Regions from separate parts of the Homo sapiens genome. Here region 2 is linked to region 1. Evidence: promoter capture Hi-C in 16 types of primary human blood cells and fetal thymus (Javierre and others, 2016). All regions are on one chromosome and are shown on one strand. Each heading gives the region's core, a stretch centred on a gene start or on the middle of the fragment in contact. The rest is flanking DNA. Distances are from core to core; before and after follow the strand shown. Region 1 holds the start of ELL2 (elongation factor for RNA polymerase II 2). Region 2 overlaps LOC101929710 (a long non-coding RNA gene).

Region 1 (5,233 bases), core at 1,987-4,486:
GTCCTGATAGGAGCTGGTTAAGGATGGTCAGCTTATGTACCATCCCCCGCATGCCACTGTTTCTACCACCAGTTTTGCAGGAGAAAAGGAATCCTAGGACTAATACAAGCTACTTGGCTCCATGCTTTAAGGTAGAGAGATCTGGGAAAAAGTCTTCCTCCTTTCCCTTTGCTGCCTCTGTAGAGACCAACCAGACCCATAAATGGGCATGTACAGAAATGGAAAAAGTACTAGAAGCAGTCAGAAGCAAACAAAGACATTGACGACTTTGGTACCTCTTAAAAAGTAATTTTTTTTTTTTAAATTAAGAACTAAGTGGTGGGTTGGCAGAGAAAGAATTTTTGATCTTCTGTCTCCTGGAAGCTACTGGTATATAAATGCAGGGGCTTTTAGAGCACTGTAAACTTAATCCCAAATATGAAAACACTAGGGTATAGGAAGCAGAAATGAAGGCCATACAAAGGTAGGAAAACAAAGCACTCCCTTCTGGGGCCTCCAGTGGTCATGCAGATCATGACCAATTACTGTCACTTCGCTTTCCCTTCCCCAAGTGGACCTCCTCATCTGCCCACTTTCCCCACAAGTGTACACTGTCAATCTTGCTGTAATCAACTGTACAGTTGCCTGTTGTTTTCCCAAGGTAGCTGGCTGACCTACTGCCCCCAGAGATGCCTCTTCCCACCCACTGTGTGTCAAGTCTTTCTCTGCTCCTCGGGTCTGCTCCTGAATAGGGGCTGGCCGCCTCCTGCTGACTTCTTTTTCTCTGGGCCTCTGGGTTTTCTCTTCACATCCCCAGACCTACCTTCTTCCCACTGCCATTCCTTCCCACGCCCTTCCCTTGGAACAGGCAAGCTTATCTTTCCATCTTGCAAGGCTGAGTTTCTCTCCAGAGTTTCTCTCCACTGTCTGCTTCTGTCCCTCTGCCTGTGTTTCTGGCTTCCCCCATATGGGCCTCCCACTCCGTCTGATGCTGGTCTCTTCACTGCAGGTGCACCTATCTAAGAGTAGCTATTGGCACATGCAGTTTTCTATTTCTTGTATCTCTCCCAGCCATTCTTGAGATTTTCTCTCGAGATTTCACTGTATGTAGGACGGTACCTTTCTCCCTGTGCATGCACTCCTCCCTGACGCCCCCTCACCCCACCACACAAAGTCTGTGAGTCCTTTTCACCATATGCTTCTCTGGTTAGTAACACAAGTGTCCTAGCACGTACATTCATGTGTCCACCCAATTCTGTGAGTACCTTCCTAACAATACACTCACCTCTGAGCCTCCACTGCTGTTTACAAATACCCTATCATGTGAGTTCATTTTCTATCCAAAGCGTGCACAACTAATGCCTTCCTCTGTGTGCACACTTATGGGGTGGGGGGGCTCTCTGAATACACTCCCAGTAAACCAGGGTTCACACCTCTCCTGCCGCTCTGCCTCAGACTCTGCCTTCGCTCTATGTATTTAAAGTGCCTGGCACTAGTGGGAGCTCAACAGATGTCAATTCTTTTCCCCACTTTTAGCTGAATAACTATGTGAATCTGTGTCTCGGTGTCCTTCTGCCCCTCTGTCTGTTGTACGAGACCGGTTGGAGTGTGTTCCTCAGTACCGAACGGGCTATTTGTAAGATGCCCCGTGGGTTCTATCTCCCTTCCGACTCTCTCCTCTCCTGTAAAACGTTACAGGTTCCCCCATATGGCATATCCCTCCCTCACGCGATGTATCCACTCCGGTCTCCCACAGTACTGCATGTCCATAAACTGTTTCCCCATGCACCCTGGTTACCGCGTCCCTTCTCGGTGCTTCCCTGTCTCTCCCATTTTTTTTCCAACATGAAAGCGTCTGGATTTGTAGTCCAATTACAGTGTATGTGCGCCTATCTGAGCCTCTCTCTGTACTGGAGGGGTGTGTGTGTATATGTGTGTGTGTGTGTCCATGGGCTTCTCTCGAAAACGAGGGGTGAGAGGCCCGAGTCTCTGCCCGGGATGCATTGTATCCTCCCCACACCTTCTGGCTCTGGCTCGTTCCCCGTTTACACTTCCCAGAGTCAGCCCAAGACGCCGGGAGCTTTTTCGGGTACGTTGAGCGTCCGTGAACCTCTCTCTCCAGAACCCGATGTCTTGCTCCCGGGGAGCGCTAAGTGTGCGTGAGTCCTCAGGTCTCTCCCCAGGGCACTGTGTTGGTTTGTGTCCGTCCTGGACGCGGCGCGTCTCCAGTAACGCGATGCGCCGGTGTCCCGGAGTCCCTGGGAATGCAGGTGTGTCCCCTCCCCCCCCGTACGCGAAGCGCCAGTGTCCCCGCCGTTCCAGTGTGCGCCGCCCCCTTACACGGACTGCCTAAGTCCCTATCTCTATGAGTACACCGTGTGCCCCTCACCATGCGCCCGAGTCCCCATCCCTTCGAGCACACAGTGTGTCCCCTGATACGTGGAGCGCCTGTGTCCCCAAGTCCCTGGGAATACAAGGTCCCACCCCCACACGCGGAGCGCCTGTGTCCTGTCTCTGAGGATCCACCGTGCCTATGTAACTGGAAAACGCGGGCAGCTGGTGCCCGCGAGTCGTCCCTGGTTCCTTGCCCATACGCTGCTCGCTACCCTCCTTCCCCGCCGAGGGTAGCGTGGTCATCTCACTTCTCTTATCGGGGCCTCTCTCCCTCCTTGGGACCCAACAAGCCAGGAAATCCTCGGGGGCCGTCGGAAAGTCCCGCAGCGGCAGCGCAGCCGACCCAGGGCTGCGGCTGCCTCGGCCCCGCCGCCAGGGGCCGCCCGACTGCCCGCTTCCCCAACGCCCAGGCTAGCCCGGGACCGCGGCGTCAGCCACCCTGCCCGGCCCTGCCCTGCCTGGCCGCTGCGGGCGCTGACGGTAGCAGCTGCCAGCCACGGCTCCGCCGGCCCCGCACCCGGGCGCGGCCAGGCCGTGAGGGGTGCGCTCTGCCTCTCTGAGCCCAGCCTGCCGGCCGGCCCGCTCACCTTGTGGCTCTGGTAAGTCTCGAGCGCCCGGATCGCCGTCTCGGTGAGCTTCACATGCAGTACGGTGATGTTGTCCTGCCCCAGCCGTCCGCACGACAGCCCATAGCGCTGCTCCTCCCGCAGGCCCCCTGTCCCCCCCGCCGCCATCTTAAACTCCCCGGGGTGCCGCCGCCGCCGCCGCTCCGGCTCTAGCCTCCACTGCGGCCGCGGCTGCTTGGGCTTCTGCAGCCGCCGCCACTGCTAGGGCCATCCCGCTGCTGACGTACTGTCATATACTGCGCGGAGCCAGACCTCGGACTGCCACCGCCGCCACCCGCCCCACCCTCCGGCCCCGCGCCCCGCCCCGGGCTCGTCTCATTGGTCTTGTTCCCTTCAGAACCGCCCTCATCGGCCGCCCTCCACTCTCACGGGGGCGGGCCCAAAGTCACTAGAGTTTTGCTCCTGGGACGGGACGTCCGAGAGGTAAGAGGCTGACGTCTAGGTGACGCGCCAACTTAATCATGTCTGACGTCACGTCTGGTCGTCTTGGCTAGCCGGCCGAGATTGGCCAGGCTGGCTTGGGGACTCCCCTGCTAATTGGAAGTCCAGGTTGCCTGGTCTGGTTACCTGGAGTTGGAGCCCCGCCCCTGTGGGGGATAGTAGTGAAAAGTCAGAATTGGGGAATCTCGCCCTACGCGGGTGGTCCTTGGAGAGGAGGATCTCCACCTCCACTATGTAAGGGGATGGCCGTGACCAAATAAGGACTTTGTTCCCCGACGGCTGCGGAAGCTGTGGAACTTGGTGCGTGCGTGTGGGGGAGGACGCAGCAGGAGGACTCGCTAGAGAGCTGCTCCTCAAAACTCCTAGTACTGTAGTTGAGCAAACGGCATTGGGAGGAAACTGCTCACTCTAAACTTGAAGTTATCGGGTGCCACACGCAGAGCTTATAAAAACAAAAACAAAAACAAAAACCCTTGAAATTAGTGAGTCGACTCTTAGATGTAGGAGTTGTGTTAGATCTTGTGGAGCATCTTAAGGACAAAATCACGCGGGAGGTTAAATGCCTTTCGTATGGTGGGCATGGTATAATAGAGAATTGAGCTTCGAGGTCTTTCCTACGCCATGCCCTGTTGTGATTCTCTGGGATCACAACTGGTGGGGATGATATCTCCTTAAAAAGGACTCTAGAAGAAGAGTAAAACTGGCATTGATCTAAATTAAAAGAAACCTCGACAATTCTCATTCTCTAATTCAGTTTGAGTATTGTCCTTTTTATTTGATAGGGCTGTGTGAAAACCTAGCTAGGGTTTAAAGGTAAGAGGCTGTCGAGGTTAAGCGAAGGAGATGGGGGCGTGAGGGGCGTGCAAAGGCCTGGCATACTTTCCATTCCATCCACAGGATGCTTCCTGTGTAGGCGTGGCTAAAAGAGGGAGCCTAATCTGGAGTCCCTTTCAGATTGTGTGTGGATAGACTGACAGATGGGTTCCTGTCAGAGGATGGATTAATTGGTTGATCAGAAACACCAGATAAAACAAACCATTGAAAGCTTTCAAACTGTTGAAAGGCAGTTTAAAAAAGTTCTTTTAATAAAAAAACTGAGACGCTTGTTTTTACCCTCAGCTTATAAAACCATGTTCTGTTCTACTGGGATTCCCCGGGAAAGTTTATAGATATTTAATCAGTATTTTTCATTATTTTAAATGGATTAGGGCCATGATTCCATGTCCTCCCCTCCCAATAAATGCCTTCCCCACCGTACGGGTACACTCCTTTTTGATTCAGACCTTCAAACATAGTAGGTGTATAATGTGAATTACAGAATGAATTGGATTAAGTGGAAACACCTGTATTAAGTGTTACTCCATCACAGGAAAACAGTTTGTAAATTGACTTAATTTCAATCCACTAAGATTGGCTAGCTGTTAAGACGTGATTAACGCTTGCTAATTTCATTTACTTTAGTGATACAGTGTTATCTTAAATTCATGTAGTAGAGATATTAAGGTAATCATCAAATTGGATTAAAAAGTTTACTCTTAGAAGGGAAATAGAGGCTTTACTACCTAGTTTTCTCCGCTTTCCAAAAGTAGAAACCTTATTCAAATAGTTCATCTCTAAGCGGACTATAATCTAAAAATAATTCTGTACTTGAACTTTTCTTTTCTCTCTCTCTTTTTTTTTTTTTTTTTTTGATAGTAAAGGACTGAGCACATAGCTAAAGCCTTAATTATTTGGGAGGTGAGGGGGAAGGGAGGTTTGACCGGAACAAGTAAAACCTGTATCCCACTGCTTTT
Region 2 (5,926 bases), core at 2,752-5,251, 270 kb after region 1:
GTTGTTGACAGTGAACATTATGCATGATTATTCTGTATTGTGTTTTAAGGAATAATGTTTTAATACAGTGTGCCCTGTTTTTCACTCCCGTAATCTATTCTCTGAATTAGGAGACATTTCTTCTTTACATAATATAAGAAATGTGAAGAGGAAAACTGAAAAAAATTCAAAATCCCTATGATCATAGTTAATTATTTGTTTATTTGATGAAGTTACTTTGACAAACCATCAATAAATTCTTCTTTTATCCTCCCCCCGTGTTCCTTCTGTTATAAAACAAGAGTATCCTTGTTGTCCTTCTCCCACCTGGACGCAGACAGCTGTTTATCAGTGACCTTTGTTATTTAGCTATTGAACCTGAGAGGTGTCAGGGATAGTGACAAAGCAGACACTTTCTTGTGCTCAAACATACTACTATTTGGAGAAGGATAGACGTCCATTCTCATGGTGACAAGTGACCAAGCCTACATGGAAGAACTTCTTATAGAGCCTGAAAATGGGTTCTAGCTGATGTCCTGCAGTATGAGCACAGAGACTTAGGGTTTCTGACTTCTTTCCTATGGTCAGAAGCTGTTGGACCTGCATTGGAGTGTCCCCCAGGGATGCCCTAGGCAGAGGCACAAAGTCTTCCTTTGACTTCTCTCCAATCCAGGTTCCCTACCTACTCTGTAAGTCCTTTTAGGTCCACTGTCTTCATTGGCACTGTCTTCTCTTTATCAATTTAAATTTTATCAATTTATCTGTGGTTAGTGTTAATGCCCAGAAGCCACCGCATAATCCTAATAATTATCATCTGTAAAATTAAATACTTGAAACTTCCCCCTTGATAGCTCTCTGATTATACCACTTTAAATCTCACTTTCCATTCATTCACATCTATAAAAATAATTATGATAATAAAACTCCTAGAAGAAAACACAGAAGTAAATCTTTATGATCTTTGGGTTAGGCAATGATTTCTTCGATATGACTCCAAAAACGTAAGCAATGAAAGTAGGATTGTTAACTTGGTCTTCACCAAGGTTAAAAACGTTTATGTTTCAAAGTACACCATCAGGAAGGTGAAAAGAAGGTCTATAGACTGGGAGACAATATTTGTAAATGACATATGTGAAAATGGGCTTGTATCCAACCCATATAAAGAACTCCTACAACTCCAAAAAGACAACTCAGTTTTAAAAAAGGGGCAGATGATAAGAATAGACATTTCTTTAACGAAGATTTACAAATTATCAACAAGCATATGAAAAGATGTTCGACATCATTAGCCATTAGGAAAATGCAAATCAAAACCACAACGAGATACTACTTCACATTCGCTAGAATAGTTATAATCAAGACAGTGACAAGTGCTGAAAGGATGTAGAAAAATTGGAACCTCATACTTTCCCGGTGGGAAAAAGTATGGTACAGTCACCTTGGAAAACAGTTTGGCAGTTTCTCAAAATGGTAAACATAGATTTACCATATGATCTAGCAATTCTCCTTCTAGAATATACACCCAAGAGAATTGAAAACATGTCTAAACAACATCTTGTAAATGAGTGTTCATAGAAATATAATTCATGATATCCAAAGAGTAGGAACAACCGCAATGTTCATGAACTGATGAATAAATAGACAAAAATGTTTTATGTCCATAGAATAGAATGGTCTTTGGCCGCAAAAAGGAATGAAGTGCTGATATATGCTACAACATGGATGAACCTAAAAATATGTTGCATGAAGGAAGCCAGTCGTAAGATACCACATATTGTATGATTTCATGTATTCACAAAACAGAATAGAATAAGCAAATCTATAGAGGCAGAAAATAATGCGCTTAACCAGGGTTTGCAGGAGAAGGGGAGAAAAGAATAGAAAGTGATTTTTCATGGGGATGGGTTTCTTTATGAGATGATGAAAATGTTTTAAAATTAGATTTGAGTGATGGTTGCACAACTCTGTAAATATTCTAAATACCATTGGATTGTACACTTAAACACACTTAAACAGGTGAAGTTTATGGTATAAATTATATCTCAATAAAGCTGTTAGAATAATTATGATATAATATAAAAATAATTGTGTTGGGTAATACTTTATTGTTTATTATCTTCATTGTGGAACAACAATTATTACTAGAAATAAAAACATAAAAAGGCAAAAAAAAAGCACATTGAATTTTGGCAGTGGCCAAGTTATTTAGCTTCCATTACCACCAACATATACCATACTGTAGCTGGATATCAGAACTGAGGAGATTACCGGTAGGTTTTGGAAAATGAAAACTGGTTCATGATGCCAATCCCAATTGCAAGTGGATCCTAAGCTTTTTTTTCTGATCAGGGCTGGACTGGGGAGAAAGGGGTGCCAATAGGTCCATGGTGCTTTAAAGAAAATATGGTATGTGTTGGTGGTAAAAGAACTAAAATATTGGAGATTCAATATAAATAACAATAAACTTTTCATACATAATATATTTAGCTAGAAAAGTACTTAAAGTTTTATCCGGGGTCAATTTCCATCAGAATTTTGGGGAGAAGATACTTACAAAAAATTGAAATTGATCAATCCCACCCTAAATCTATGAACTGATATCTCTGGAGGATGAGAGTGTTGGAAGCTGGGAATCTGCATTTCTAAAAATGTTACTAGGTGACTCTGATGCAAATAGAGAAAACTGATACAAAATTGAAAGGCCAATTTTCACAACTTATACTGTGTGTGATACTGGAAGTCCTAGTTAACAAAATAACATAGAACAAATAAATAAAAACTACAAGGATTGAAAACAAATAACATTGTCCTTACCCACAAATATGGTTGTCTGCAAGAAAATCTATGGGGATCTGCAGAAAAGGACATTTGGAAAACCTAAGAAAATCTATGGAGAAAAGATTGTTTTAGAATTTATGGTGTTCAGCAAGGTTGCAGAATACAAAATTAACAATCAAAATTTAATACGAAAAACTCAGTAGAATTTGTGTATAACAGCATAACCTTGTATAAATGCAATTTTAAAAAGAACAAAAAATTGAGGGGGATAGTTGGGGCCAAGAAAGAAAGAGAAATTATAAGGTTCCTATTAAAAATCTCACAAAAACTTTTCCTTTCTTCATGCATGAAATTACAAAACTTTATTTAAAGACATAAAATAGATTATTTTCTAAGCCAATTGGAGAGCATACTATGTTCATGGATAGAGAGATTCATAAAAGTATTAATTTACTCCAAATTTGTCTAGAAATGAATGAAAATTTCTAGAGGAAGTTTGTAAAAATGCACAAAGTGTATAGCAATTCTACTTCAAAACACAGTACTATATTTTAGAGAAACACTTGCATATGTTAACACAGATACTTATTACAGCAGTGCTTGGAATAGTAAAAAAGGGGAAACAACCTAACAACCCACCAGTAAGGGAATTAACAAATTAACTGTGGGTTATTACTATTTGACAGTTAAAATGAAGCACTTCAACCAATCTGCATCTATTAGTATTAAAAATTCAAAAACCAAAATATTCAATGTAAAATGCAAATTGCTATATGTAGATACAATATCAAATATATAAAATGTAAAGACCCCAAAATACTATTTTAATTCATGGATACATATTTAGTAAAATTATGCAAACTTTCGTGGAATTGATTCCCTAAAACTTCAGAACACCTCTGAGGAAACAGGAGAGGAAAGATATAGGACTGGGATTCAAGTTTTAGCTGTATCTAGAACACTTTATTAAAAGAATAAGTAAATAGGAAGCAAAAATGGAGTAATATTAACATGTTAGGTCTATGTGGCAAGTAACTTGTGTTACATTACTCTTTGTATTTTAAAATACTTCAAAAAACAAAAATAAAAAAATTGATTCACAGAACAGAACATTCAATATGGATTAACTCTTTTAATTGAGTTGACATAAAGCCCTATATTGGTTTAGCTCCTCTCATCAATATTTTCCATAACTGAAATCTGGACAGATGGCAGATACAATATTTTCTCTCCTTGACAGATGGATGAACTGGAAGGTTTAATTACTTTCTCCTAGTTACTTAATAAGTAGCTCTAGAAACAAAATATTTTGGTCAGTAACTTGGGTGTTTGTCTACCACACAGCATGTTAGAACACAATAATTAGCCTGTATAGTTTCGACTGTAAGATAACATATTTACATATGTGTTCTATTACATATATAAAACAGAAACCTTATATCTTCGTGTATAATCAGACACTGTAGAACAAGAAGAAATAATCTTAAAATTTTAATAATCTTAATTTTTTTCTAATGACGTTGTAGATAAGATTTTTTGTTCTTACATAATTGCAAAAAAAAATTATTTTTTAAAGTGAGAGTTTTTGATATTAAGTAAAAGCCAAGAATAAATTAGATCCTTTGGTTAGAGCATTTGATTTCCCTGCTTCAGAAGTGGGCACACACAAACAAAGAAGTGGGTACATAGGACAAAGATCACTTGGCTTATATTCAGGAAATGTAAATTTTCCTCTCAAGTCTTCCACTGGCTAACTGTAGCCTGCATCAATTCTTTGAATTTTTCAGGGTCTGTCAAAGTTTATGGAAGAAAGGATGTATCAGGTTGAGAGAAAAGCATTAGTCTTAAAATGTATTGCTTGTTTGAAACATGGCAAACAGCCTGCTGGGGCTGGAAGGAAGTGTTCATGGAAGGCCGTAGTAGGGAATGCGGCTAGAGATGCTTTAGATTTTACTCTACAGCAATTGAACATTTTTGAGGAATGGCATTGTAATATCTGCCTTACAGTTTGCATGGGAATATTGTCATTTGGTAATTGCAGGCAGCGACATATACACAAACCATACTAAATCAGGTCAACCAAACAGGAATTTTTTTTCCTCCCAAAATAAGAAGTCAGGAGATGGACAGGCCACAGTTGGGGCAGCCTCTCAAGAAAGTCATGAAGGACCGAGTTTCCTTCTAGCTTTCCTGTTCCACCAGCCTTGGCTTGTGAATTTTGCCCTCATTCTCTCATGACAGCTGTTCCATTTCTATGCAGAAAGAAAAGGGAAATTCAAAAGTTAAATGTTCATCCAGACAAGTTTTCTCTTTTTCCAGTAAAATAATAACTTTAATGGATGTTCCATCCAGCAGACTTACGTTTATATCTCATTGGCCAGAAATGTATTACAACAAAGTCTGGGGAGGTGTGTGTGGGTTGTGTATGTGTGTATGTGTGTGTGTGTTTTACTGCTTTATTGAAGTATAATTTACATAAAATAAATTACATATGTAGAAAGTATGCATTTTGGTGAGTTTTGATATGTGTGTACACTTATGCAATGATTATCATAATGAAGATACCAAATATTTCAAGAAAGTATTCAAAAATGGGAACTTCGTTACCTGAATAAATCAAGTTTCTTTTAGCAAGAGGCAAATGGAAAAAATAGATTTTTGAAAGACAACTAGTAGTGTCTGCCACAATTTCTAGATTCATAAATTTTCCCAAAGGTGCCCCTCCAAGTGATTCTCCTGGTTCATCTTGGTGGACCCCAGGAGAGCTTTAGGAAGAGAACCAGAGCAGGAGTTTGCCTTGGGATCATTTCTAGTCTAAGTCTGCCTTGGCAGGCAGTGTAATATAGATGAAAGCATGGTTTTTGGTGTCAAATTGGGGTTAAAATCCCAGCTCTCACACTAACTCATTGTGTGGCTTTGAACAATTCAGTTCAACAAAGCTTTAATGAGTATCAGCTATATAACAACTACTTTCCATTCCCTGGGCATACAGCAGTAAAAAGGACAGACGTAGTCCATCCCTTCACAGAGCTTGCTATCTGGTAGTGGCTGAGCCTTTTCTATAAATAGGAGCTGTGGCGAGGATAAATTTAGTTCTTACAACATGTGAATGTTAGTTTAATGGTAATTATTTAGGAGCTGTCCTAGATTTGGCTTCATTCTACTAATA

What was found. Contacts are between HindIII fragments. The CHiCAGO score rates a contact against its expected background, and 5 or more counts as called.
Region 2: a fragment that was not itself captured here is called in contact with the fragment with the promoter of ELL2 in region 1 in 1 of 17 cell types (endothelial precursors); the score reaches 5.4 in endothelial precursors.

The regions. Positions count from the first base shown.
Region 1 is chr5:95,958,615-95,963,847 of GRCh38, forward strand. It overlaps ELL2 (elongation factor for RNA polymerase II 2), which reads right to left and starts at 3,237. Exons shown (of 12, transcript NM_012081.6): 1 at 2,961-3,237. The coding sequence starts at 3,107. It overlaps LOC101929710 (a long non-coding RNA gene), which reads left to right and starts at 3,387. Exons shown (of 5, transcript NR_130776.1): 1 at 3,387-3,422. It also overlaps a transcript of CAST not described here. RefSeq lists silencers at 2,651-3,060, 3,131-3,370, 3,326-3,793 and an enhancer at 3,089-3,846. The HindIII fragment of the contact is 3,633 bases long and covers 851-4,483 here.
Region 2 is chr5:96,229,638-96,235,563 of GRCh38, forward strand. All of the region lies in intron 1 of LOC101929710 (a long non-coding RNA gene), which reads left to right. It also overlaps a transcript of CAST not described here. Among named protein-coding and RNA genes, the nearest start is that of MIR583, 150 kb to the left of the region's middle. The HindIII fragment of the contact is 3,385 bases long and covers 2,310-5,694 here.